3 separate regions of the Homo sapiens genome follow, and all the other regions are linked to region 1. Evidence: promoter capture Hi-C in 16 types of primary human blood cells and fetal thymus (Javierre and others, 2016). All regions are on one chromosome and are shown on one strand. The core of a region is centred on a gene start or on the middle of the fragment in contact, and the rest is flanking DNA. Distances in the headings are between cores, read along the strand shown. Region 1 holds the start of IDNK (IDNK gluconokinase). Region 2 overlaps LOC101927552 (a long non-coding RNA gene). Region 3 overlaps GKAP1 (G kinase anchoring protein 1).

What was found. Contacts are between HindIII fragments. The CHiCAGO score rates a contact against its expected background, and 5 or more counts as called.
Region 2: a fragment that was not itself captured here is called in contact with the fragment with the promoter of IDNK in region 1 in 1 of 17 cell types (non-activated CD4 T cells); the score reaches 5.8 in non-activated CD4 T cells.
Region 3: a contact is called between a fragment that was not itself captured here and the fragment with the promoter of IDNK in region 1, in 2 of 17 cell types (activated CD4 T cells and naive CD8 T cells). The highest score is 6.4, in activated CD4 T cells.

Annotation. Positions count from the first base shown.
Region 1 is chr9:83,621,346-83,624,932 of GRCh38, forward strand. It overlaps IDNK (IDNK gluconokinase), which reads left to right and starts at 1,798. Exons shown (of 5, transcript NM_001001551.4): 1 at 1,798-1,876. The coding sequence starts at 1,827. RefSeq lists a silencer at 1,493-2,022 and enhancers at 2,203-2,332, 2,353-2,402. The HindIII fragment of the contact is 10,566 bases long and covers 417-3,587 here.
Region 2 is chr9:83,828,401-83,831,987 of GRCh38, forward strand. LOC101927552 (a long non-coding RNA gene) reads left to right here. Exons shown (of 6, transcript XR_001746793.2): 3 at 2,468-2,553; 4 at 3,163-3,212. Among named protein-coding and RNA genes, the nearest start is that of GKAP1, 12 kb to the left of the region's middle. The HindIII fragment of the contact is 4,857 bases long and covers 1-3,587 here.
Region 3 is chr9:83,791,756-83,795,342 of GRCh38, forward strand. The region is part of intron 4 of GKAP1 (G kinase anchoring protein 1); the gene reads right to left. Among named protein-coding and RNA genes, the nearest start is that of GKAP1, 24 kb to the right of the region's middle. The HindIII fragment of the contact is 5,208 bases long and covers 1-3,587 here.

The DNA of each region.
Region 1 (3,587 bases), core at 548-3,047:
TGGTCTATTCTCTCTGTCTCTCTCCTTCCATTCTCTTCCCTTCCCATATAAAGGCTCCCTCTCATCAGCCCCTTTCTATTTAAGAGTGAAAACACTTCTCGGTTACTCAGATGTGGACTCTGCCCCTAGTTGCTTTTTCTGACCCTACCCACACCTGTGCTAATAGTCCCTTTGTTAAATCCTGTTCACCTGCCCCAATTTGAGCATGCTGTTTCCTGCCACCACCCTGAGCAGCACAGCAAGTTTAAGATCCTTGGACATGTCTGGGGAAAGAAATCCAAGGAGAAGAATCAGATTTTCTGCTAATCATTCTGATTTGAACATTGAAAGAAATATGAGCTTTTTTTTTTCATACTGAGCTAGCGAAGCAGGGCACGAGTTAAGAGTATTTGCATACACATCTATTCCTCTTATCAAGCTTGAGAATGCCTAGAGGGTAATCTTTTAAATGAATATTAATATGATATTAACCAGCACATGGTAGATGTTCAAGAAATGTGTATTGACCATAACTGAATTGTAAGACCTCTCTCCAAGCCTCAATTTCTTCACCTGTACAGCCCCCATCCAGATTGAAATCTCACCTACTCGGGCTAAGTATATGAAAAACAAAGGCAGTGCAGGGGTAATTGAACTATTCATTAGATAAATGCTTTTATGTCACTTTTATTGTTTTCTAGGACACAGAGTAATACCTACCTTGGTTAACAAAAGACCAAAGGAGGTGATGCCAAATGCGGTTAGAAGTGCTTTTAATCACTTTGGGAGGCCGAGGCGGGTGGATCATGAGGTCAGGAGATCGAGACCATCCTGGCTAACAAGGTGAAACCCCGTCTCTACTAAAAATACAAAAAAAATTAGCCGGGCGCGGTGGCGGGCGCCTGTAGTCCCAGCTACTCGGGAGGCTGAGGCAGGAGAATGGCGTGAACCCGGGAAGCGGAGCTTGCAGTGAGCCGAGATTGCGCCACTGCAGTCCGCAGTCCCACCTGGGCGACAGAGCGAGACTCCGTCTCAAAAAAAAAAAGAAGTGCTTTTAATCAAATAGTTCAAACGACACATAATTAACATTGTTTTAAAGCAAATGGACACTTTAAAGTGGTGCTCCTTCCTCTTAAAGCCCCAACCAGTGCTGGATTTAACAGCAGAGCCATACAGCCAAGACATATGCTGCTACGGTCAACACTCAACCCTAAGTTTGACACCAAAAGATGGCCGCCATTTATTATTGTGACAAAAGGCCAGATTACAAAACGCTGTGTACGGCCTGATCCCAGTTTTACAAAATACTCATACCCATCTATCTACGACGGGGCGCGGGGAAAGGGGAGTCGTTTTAGGAAGTGCTGCTTATTGCTGCCTGGTGTGGGAAATTATGAGTCTTATTTTCTGTTTATTCTTTTTACAAGAACATTTTTATAAATGAATGAATGAATGCTTTCCATGGGTGGATGAGGATCCGGCCTGCCAGGGTGAGGATCCTCTGGAACCAAGAGGGGCCGGGGCAGTAGAACGACAGGTGGCGGGGCTTTGGGCGGCTCCCTCCAGCCCAGGGAGACGCGAGTGCCAGGCCGGGCGCGCGCTTCACTTCCGGGAAGAGGAAAGAGGGAGGGGAGGGGAGAGGAAAAGAAGGGGCAGGAGAGAGAGGCCGGGAGGTTGGGAAAGGGAGGAGGAAAGCATGGAAAAGGGGCGCGGGAAAACGGGGAGGGCGCAGAGGGGCACGGCCCTCACTGCCCCGGCCGGGGCGAGAGCGGCTCCGCCCCTCGAGCGCCGGGTAGGCCGGGGCCGGCGGGGCCCGGAAGGCGACGGGAAGGAGCCGAGCTTGGGTTATGGCGGCGCCGGGCGCGCTGCTGGTGATGGGCGTGAGCGGCTCGGGGAAGTAGGTCCGGGAGAGGGCGGGGGGCGCCCGGGACAAGTGTTGCGGGCGCGGCGGAGGCCGGACGCGTCGCCGTCCCTGCCGGTGGACTGGGGTCTTGGGGACCCCCCACCCTTCCCTTTGCAGATGAAGAAACCGAGGCCCGCGGCTGCCGCGCCCTCTCCCCGCCCTCCAGCCTGCTCGCGGGGCGCCCATCCTGGGACCGCATCCGAGCTCCGGGTTCCCGCTCTAAGACGGGGAGGCTGCGGCGACCGCAGGCTCAGGGAGGAAGCCGCTCCTGAACAGGCGGCTGCGGGGCCGCGCAGGTGGAGGCCTAGCGAGCGGCGCGGGGCTAGGTTTCGGGGCGCCTTGTCGGGGCCAGGCGGGAGGGCGCACGGCCTCTAGCGAGAGGACGCAAACCACGGCCCAGGCTCTCACAGACCTTTGGCCATCTGGACACACAGCGGCCTCCTCCTATGAGGCCCTGGACTTCTCCGATTCAATTTTGGAAAGTGAATCGTTTTCCCCTTCCTTTCATCAGCTTAACCTGGAAGGAGACAGCGTTAATATGGAGGGTGGCTCCTGAGGGTTTGGAAAGAAAGAAGAGAATTGTGGAAACCACAGAGGTAGCCCAGTGTGCTAACCTGGAGACTGAGGAGTTAACATTTGGCTTCCTGTTTAAACCAAAGTCTAACTGTGCCCTTTATCAGAAAAGACAGCTGCTGTACCATTCGACCACAGGCAGCAAAGGACAGAACTTGATCAGCTAAAACATCATAACCTTCAAGGGCCTATAGGACCCTTCTAGAATTTTCTGAATCAGGAACGGCCCATGTTGTGGCCTGTGTAGTCAGGTGTATATTAAAGATTTACTCCAGGTAGATGGGTTTTGCTTTCCAAAATTATTGTAGGGTTCTCAGCCACAAAGATAAAAAGAAATCTTGAACTGCAATTGAAATAAAACATGGAGCCCCCAAATCCCTAGCTGCCATATGATTTGAATCAGTTGGAGAATGTAAAATCATTGCCATGGTGTGATGTAACAGGAGTGAAGAGCCCTAGGTCTTGGTTCTGTTGCTGTCTGGCTGTGTGAGCCTGGGCAGTTCATGTACCCCCTCTGAGTCTTGAATCAGATGAGGGAGGCCTAATCCCTATGATGTATAGCTTGTGATATTCATGTACTCAGTAATTATTGAGCTCAATCCTTACTCTATGTCATTGTCATATAGCGAACAGGACAGATAAAATCCCTGCCCTCAAAGGATTTACATTCTGGTATGGGAGACAGAGTAAATGAATATATGTAGTGTGTGAGTTGGTGATAGATGCTCTGGAGTAAGGGGAACAAAGAGTGCCAGGCAGAGTGGTCAGGGATGTCTCCTCTGGGGGAGTGGCGTTTCAGCAAAGACCTGCAAGACTTGAGGAACCTGCCATGTGGATAGCTGAGGAAAGGGCAGGACAGGCAGAGGGAATGGCAGGTGCAATGGTTCTGAGGCTTAGCTTCTTTTGTTTTTTTTTTGTTTTGTTTTGTTTGAGGCGGAGCTTCACTCCTGTTGCCCAGGCTGGAGTGCAGTGGTGCAATCTTGGCTCAATGCAACCTCCTCCTCCCGGGTTCAAGCAATTCTCCTGCCTCAGGCTCCTAAGTAGCTGGGATTATAGGCGCCCACCACCATGCACAGCTAATTTTTTGTATTTTTAGTAGAGACGGGGTTTCATCATGTTGGCGAGGCTGGTC
Region 2 (3,587 bases), core at 489-2,988, 210 kb after region 1:
CCCCAAATTGATCTACAGATTCAATGCAATTCCTATCAAAATTCCATCTTCCTCTTTGTAGAAATGGACAACTGGTCCTAAAATTCATATGGAAACTTAAGGGACCCCAAATAATGAACAAATGTTGGAAAAGAAGAACAAAGTTCATGGGTTCACACTTTGACTTCAAAATTTACTACATAATCAAGACAGTGTGGTATGGTCTGTCATAGGACAGACATATAGACCAGTGGAATAAAATTGAGTCCAGAAATAAACCTGTGTGGTCAATTGGTTTTCAACAAATGTATGAAGACAATTTAATGAGGAAAGAATAGTTTTTTTCAACAAATTGTATTGACACAACTGGATATCTGCATGCAAAATAATGAAGTTGGACCCTTAACTCATACCATGTACAAAAACTAATTCAAAATTGATCAGAGACCCAAATGTAAGACTTAAAACTGTAAAGTGCTCTTCTCCTTCCATCAAAGCTGGTTGGATGTGATTTCCGTGTTCAGATACAATTTATGATACTTGCTTCTTTTGAGCATGCATACATTAGAAGAGCATTTTTTGATCAGTATGTTTACATGTAGTTCTTACAGCTTTATATATATGTGAGCTCAGAAACATATTTCCATCTGAAAAAGCACCCCTAATTTTCTGTCTCCTTACCCTGCTTTACTCTCTCCATAAGTAATGTCACTGGACTGTAAGTTCCTTGAGGGATAGGGCTTTTAGTTTTCAACTCTATCAGCAAAAATATAAAGGTTGATAGAAAATATAAAGCAGGAAAATGCCTATAAATTAAAAGCCTGTAGAAATTTCCATCTTTACATTTTAGCATTTACATATAGATGCCATTTTTTTATATTTTCAGGAAATAAATAACTTTAGCTACCAGCCCACCCTTTGGAAGAGGTACAGATTATTTCCCATATAAGAACTAAACCCCACGGTACTGGCCCATGTCTTGAAGGGTGAAGGGCCAACTAAACTCACATAATCAAATGCTTAAACCTAGCTTCCTTTCTCATGGGAGATACTGAATTTTGTAATAAACCTTACTAAGAATACCTCATACCACTTAAGGTAACTCAGGAAAACTGTATGTTAGTATTCTTCTTTTCTGATTTATTTGTTCACAATCCACTAGAATACTTATGATTGTAGGTTCCATTACCCTTAAAGTCTTGACCTTCTCTTTCCTTGGCTGCTCAGGTCATAGGTGCTGTGATCTAGAGACAAAATGTTCCTTACACTGGCAGATACTTGCAAACTAAGGGGAATGAGCTTCCTTCTGAATGTTTATGAAGGAGAGGCCACTGTGGTAATGTTAAAATTAATACACTTGTTGTATTTAGGAGCTAAAAGTCTCAGATGCTAAATGAGGACTGATTTGCTTTTTATTTGATCATATACCTATACATGTGCAAAAAAAATTAACTACTTGTTTTATAGTTTCTTTGGGGAAAAATAGTTTAAAATTCTTATCAGTTTTAAGAAAAGTTATTTTCCAGCCATAGTTCAATAGCTCACAAATGTAACTGTTACTAAAAAAATAAGTAATAAATAGCCAAAAACTGGTGGCCAAAGATCCAGTAAAAAACATCCTCTTTCACTCATAAATCAACGAAATAGTCATGAAGCACTTCTATGCCTATAAAAATAGATTCAGCAAGTCTTTAAAATATTTTTGCTAGAATTCACATTAATCTTCCCAGAGAATACTCTTATTTATACTGTTGAAACATACATAACTAAAATTGGGAATTTGTTTAGAAGATATATATAACTAAAACTGAGAATTTGTTTAGAAGATGTCTTATGATTTGCATATATGTAAAATAAACAACCATGTGTTCCAAACAGTTATCCCATTTTGACATCCAACTGTATGGAAAACTTACTTATAATTTAATCTTAAACATATATGATGCTTCAATTTTCAAAGTGCTTTCATTTGATAAAGCATTTATTTGATAAAGCAAGGGTATGTAACAAAAATATTCACTATGTAACAAAAATAGTAATTTCCCTAATTTGTGTTTCATTTGAAAAATATGATTTTGATATTAAATGCAGGGTAGTGATTCATAAATAGTTTTTTAAAGGCTGTTTGGTTTAGAAAATGTCATTTAATGTACTCTATTAATAAAATTACAGGCTGTGTCATTCTAGTCATGTCTAACAGCTGGTGACACCTGGAGCTAGCCAGGAAAATGTCTAGTGAAACAGATGGGCTTAGCCCCAGGCCTTGAATGGAACAATTCAGATGCTGTCCAACCCTCCCAGGTGATGGGAATTTCAAAAGGAGATTAACTCCTCAGTATTAAAATACCTTGCCCTGTTCCCATTATTCCCATCTAGAAAAAGCATGCTAGAAAGTAACAACAAAACTTTGACTTTAATAGTTATAAATTATTATGAAAATTATCAGTTAGTTGAACTCGGATAACTCCTCACTCCTTTTCATTCCTAGAGGATAGACAGTGAAGTGCAACTACAGCCCGCAAATGAAAATGAATAATATTAATCCAGCCCCTCAAGGCAGGCGAGTAGCTGCTGGTTTGTAATCTTGAATTAAAGTTTTTTTATACACAGGTTTTTCGGTAGACAAATTCAGGGACATTTTAGCAGAGGAAAAAAAATAAGCAAAATAGTCGAGATATCATTGTTTTACAAAAATAAATCCCATTTTGCCTACAGCAATTTTTTTGTTTGTTTTGGTATATCATTCATGGTTCTTCAAAGGTAAAATCACTTAAGTCCTAACTGCTTTCCTTCAGTGTATGTTGTTAGGCCATTGGAATTTACCACAAACTGCTATTTCTTGTAATTCTCTATCGAATGGCTCCACAATTTCTATTCAAATTCGATCTAGGATGGCTTCTTTTCATAATATCCTGAGTGAATAGTAAACATAGGAAAAGGAACCAGTATAAAAATATACCAGTATGAAAAATAAAAACCAGTATAAAAAAGTTATTTTTTAATGGCAAAGTCAGTACTAACCAAGAGTATTCTTTAGTGTTTAGAGATAGCCAAAGGTTGAATTTAAGTTTCAGTCCTTATGCCAGAGAAATATATTCTCTCAAAATATTTTTTGAAAATCCTCTGCTTGTCTATGGAATGCTTTCAAATAAACCTCTTTCCCCCGTCTCCCTCCCACTCCAGTCATCTGTCTTAGAGCTATTGGAATCCTGGATCATTGTGGGAAATGAAAGGTAAGTAAGTACATGCCTATGATTTGTTGTTGGTAAGTGTGGCGTGGGGTCCAAGGAATGGTTCGTTTAAAAATAAGGCAGACCACGTAACTTTTTTTTTTTTGAGACGGAGTCTCCCTCTGTTGCCCAGGCTGGAGTGCAATGGCGCGATCTCGGCTCACTGCAACCTCTGCCTCACGAGTACAAGCAATTCTCCTGCCTCAGCCTTCCGAGTAGCTGGAACTATAGGTGTGCCACCACACTCGGTTAATTTTGTATTTTTAGTAGAGATGGGGTTTCATCATGGCCAGGCTGGTCTTGAACTCCTGACCTCGTGATCCACCTGCCTCAGCCTCCCAAAGTGCTGGGATTACAGGCATGAGCCACCGTGCCTGG
Region 3 (3,587 bases), core at 468-2,967, 170 kb after region 1:
TGAACTACAGGAAATAGAATAAGACATTAAAAGAGCTACAAAAGTTGAGAAAAAGAAGATCAACAACAAATGTGATTCAGGAATACAGAAAAAAAATCCTTTTAAGTTGGTATTTAAATATAGATACAATTTGGATAGGCAGAAATAGAACTGCAGGAAGAGCCACATTATGTTAATGTTATAATATTAAGAATAGATATACTATGGGATACTAAGGAAAGTCATTCTGACAAAAAGTGAATTTTAAACATTACAAGAGAAAGATGTGGAAAAAACACAGGCTTTGGGAGATCACAGAAATTGATAATTTAAATTCCTATTCCACCCATGCTAGCTGTGACTTTGAACAAGTTATATTAACTCCTGTGAATCTCAGAACATTTAAAAAGGACATTGGAATATCAACTGTACAAGGTAGTTTTAAGGACTTAAAGTTGTAATATGTATGAAGTACCTAGCACAGTTCCTGGCATAAGAGCAGTACCAAATGAATTAGAATTACTCTCCCATGTTGGAGAATAGTAGAAAATAAGATTGCTTAGTTAGGGCAGCATAAGGTTCCAGACACTTCCTAAAATTTAAGGCTATAGGGCAGAAAAAAGAGGAATGCTAATATTAAATAAAAGTAATTTTTAAGATATAAACTGGAATATTAGAAGAATGAGAACCTAGAATCAATGTGTCTGACTAAGCCATTGTAATCTCAGACAGCATATGGGCACCTGGACCAAAATGTAGCAGCGCAGAAAATAAAGAAGAGACTGATCAAGTTTTGGAACACTGACAATATGAAGTGTGAAAGAATCAAAGATAAGGTTTTTGACCTTAGATAACAGGGAGAATGGTAGCACAAGACTAACACATATCAGAAAAGAGAAAGAAAATGTGATTCAAAATTCTCTAAACATATCTTTATTCTCTATCAAAGACTGCTATAACTATAGCTGACAATCTACTTAATCAGTAAATGTATAGGTAAAAGAGAGAGGGAGACAGAGACAGAGACTGGGCCTATAAGACAGGCTCCAGGCAATAAAATGCAAATAAAAGCATACTTTTAAAAAAGTACCTTGTTTAAGTTTGCGAATGGGAAGTTCCTTATTATTTTCTTTTTATTTATGGGAGTAGGAGGAAAGGAAGAAAAAGAGGAAATAGCAGGCACTAAAATGCCTACAGAATTCAAGAAGATACTTACATGTGTCCAAGATGGAGTACTTCAGATCCCCTTCCTCTTGACTTCCTCATTGCCTCCTACTCCCCATCTAGTAGTAAAACATTTTTTCTTCTATTTAAGCAAACCTATAGCTCAATCAGTTAAAGAGTATGAAGAACCAATGAAAAACCTAAAGGACAGTAAATATTTTGGTACTAACATTTTTTAAAAATTAATTTGTAAGTCTAAGTACCATTACAATTTTACTCATTTAAATCCAAACAAAATAAATTCCAAATGAAGAGTTAGTCTTCAATTCTCATAGGCAACATGGAAATATAGTTACTATAAAACAAAAGAGATCACCATTCTGAAGACATCTAACACTTGCAGCCAACTGATTGGACTTAATAGCAGTGGTGCATAGTGGTCCCCTAACCCATTAGATTTTCAAAGTGTAGACTACATATCTTTCAGTAATTTGGAAGGCAAGATTATTTTCCCAGAAATCTTACAGTAGTCTTATTGAACATAATTATTCTAAAGGTTGTCAGAGTTCTACAAAAATGACATATATAATTCACATTCATTACCACATTCAGTTCATCTCAGCTAATGTATTTTTATGTCTTCTGAGTGCTGTTTGCATTTACTAAGTCTGTATTTTTGTTGTATGCTTTATCACACCTCCAAGCAATAAAAATGGTTCATGAGTCACAAAAGAATTAAAAGTAGTAATGAAAATAGAACCGTAAATAATGCAACTTATAAAAACACAATAAATTTTGAAATTAACAGGACTCCAATACAGTGAATATAGAATATAAACGTGTATGTGTTAGGATGAGAGTGATGTCACAAAAGGAGCAGAAAAGGAAAGTTATAAACAGAAAATTAAGATAATGAATATTTAAAATTTTCATTTGAGTCATCCATCTATTTGCTCCTAGCTACCTGTCATGAAATCTGGTCAGAAGACTGGGTGTGGTGGCTCATGCCTACAATCCCAGCACTTTGGGAAGCTGAGGTATGTGGACTGCTTGAGACCAGGAGTTCAAGACCAGCCTGGGCAACATGGCAAAACCCCATCTCTACTAAAAATACAAAAAATTAGCCAGCCATGGTGGAGTGTGCCTGTAGTCCCAGCTACTTGGGAGGCTGAGGCGGGAGAATCATCTGAGCCTGGGAGTCAAGGCTGCAGTTAGCCATGATCACACCACTGCATTCCAGCTTGGGCGATGGGAGTAAGACCCCATCTCAAAAAATATATGAAAATTAAAAAAGAGAGAGAAAGAAACTTGGTGAGACCAGTGGCCTGAAGATATCACAGTTTTTGTTTCACTTTCAAACAAAGCCAAGGGACCTGTAGGAGTCTTTCCAGAACAACTACTAAGTAATGCTTTCCAGCATAAAAGTGATTAATTTTGTTGCTAAAGAGCCAAAAATACAATGGATTTATTTGAATTTACACTCCTTATAAGGAAACCAGGTAGTCAAACTACTGCCAAGGGATTTATTATACCAGCCACACAGTTAATGATAAATATTACACTCACAAACAAACAAAACCAGAACAAGCTATTGGAAAAAAACCTTTATCAAATGAACTGAAGGATGTCACGTAAGAGAGAACTTGCTATTGTGCACATACTAACAGACATGTCACTTCAGAGTGAGAAAAATACCAGTGACGTGTAGAGTTTGAATCAATACAGTAACAGAAGAAATACACAATAAAATTTGGTCTGTTAATCACTGAAACCCTTAAGAAGAGATTTTTCTACTTATTTTTTGAGTCATGACTTTTAAAAAAAGGTACACTGGAATCAATAGTATCAGTGCATCATGCATAAAGCAGATTATACCTGAAAAACATCTACACAGAGATTTATTCCTAGGCAACAGCTGTTGGTGAACAATATGTTTCTTGATCTTGATTTAATCGTTTTAAAAAACAGTGGCTGGGTGTGGTGGCTCGCGCCTGTAATCCCAGCACTTTGGTAGGTGGAGGTGGGGAGGGGAGGATCATCTGAGGTCAGGAGTTCGAGACCAGCCTGGCCTGTAAAATCCCACCTCCACTAAAAAACAATACAAAAAACTAGCCGGGCGTGGTGGCACATGCCTGTAATCCCAGCTACTCAGGAGGCTGAGGTAGGAGAATCGCTTGAATCCGGGAGGCGGAGGTCACAGTGAGCCGAGATTGTGCCACTGCACTCCAGTCTGGGCGACAAGAGCGAGACTCCATCTCAAAAAAAAAAAAAAAAAAAAAAAGTGAAAATTATGCATACAACCAAGTCAAAGCCATGCCCTACGTATTTTTTTAAAAACAGCTTTACTGGGATATAATTTACATATCATTTTATACATCATGTATCACATGACACTCATTTCAATTAAGAAACATACACATCTTTTGATATATACATCTAAGCAA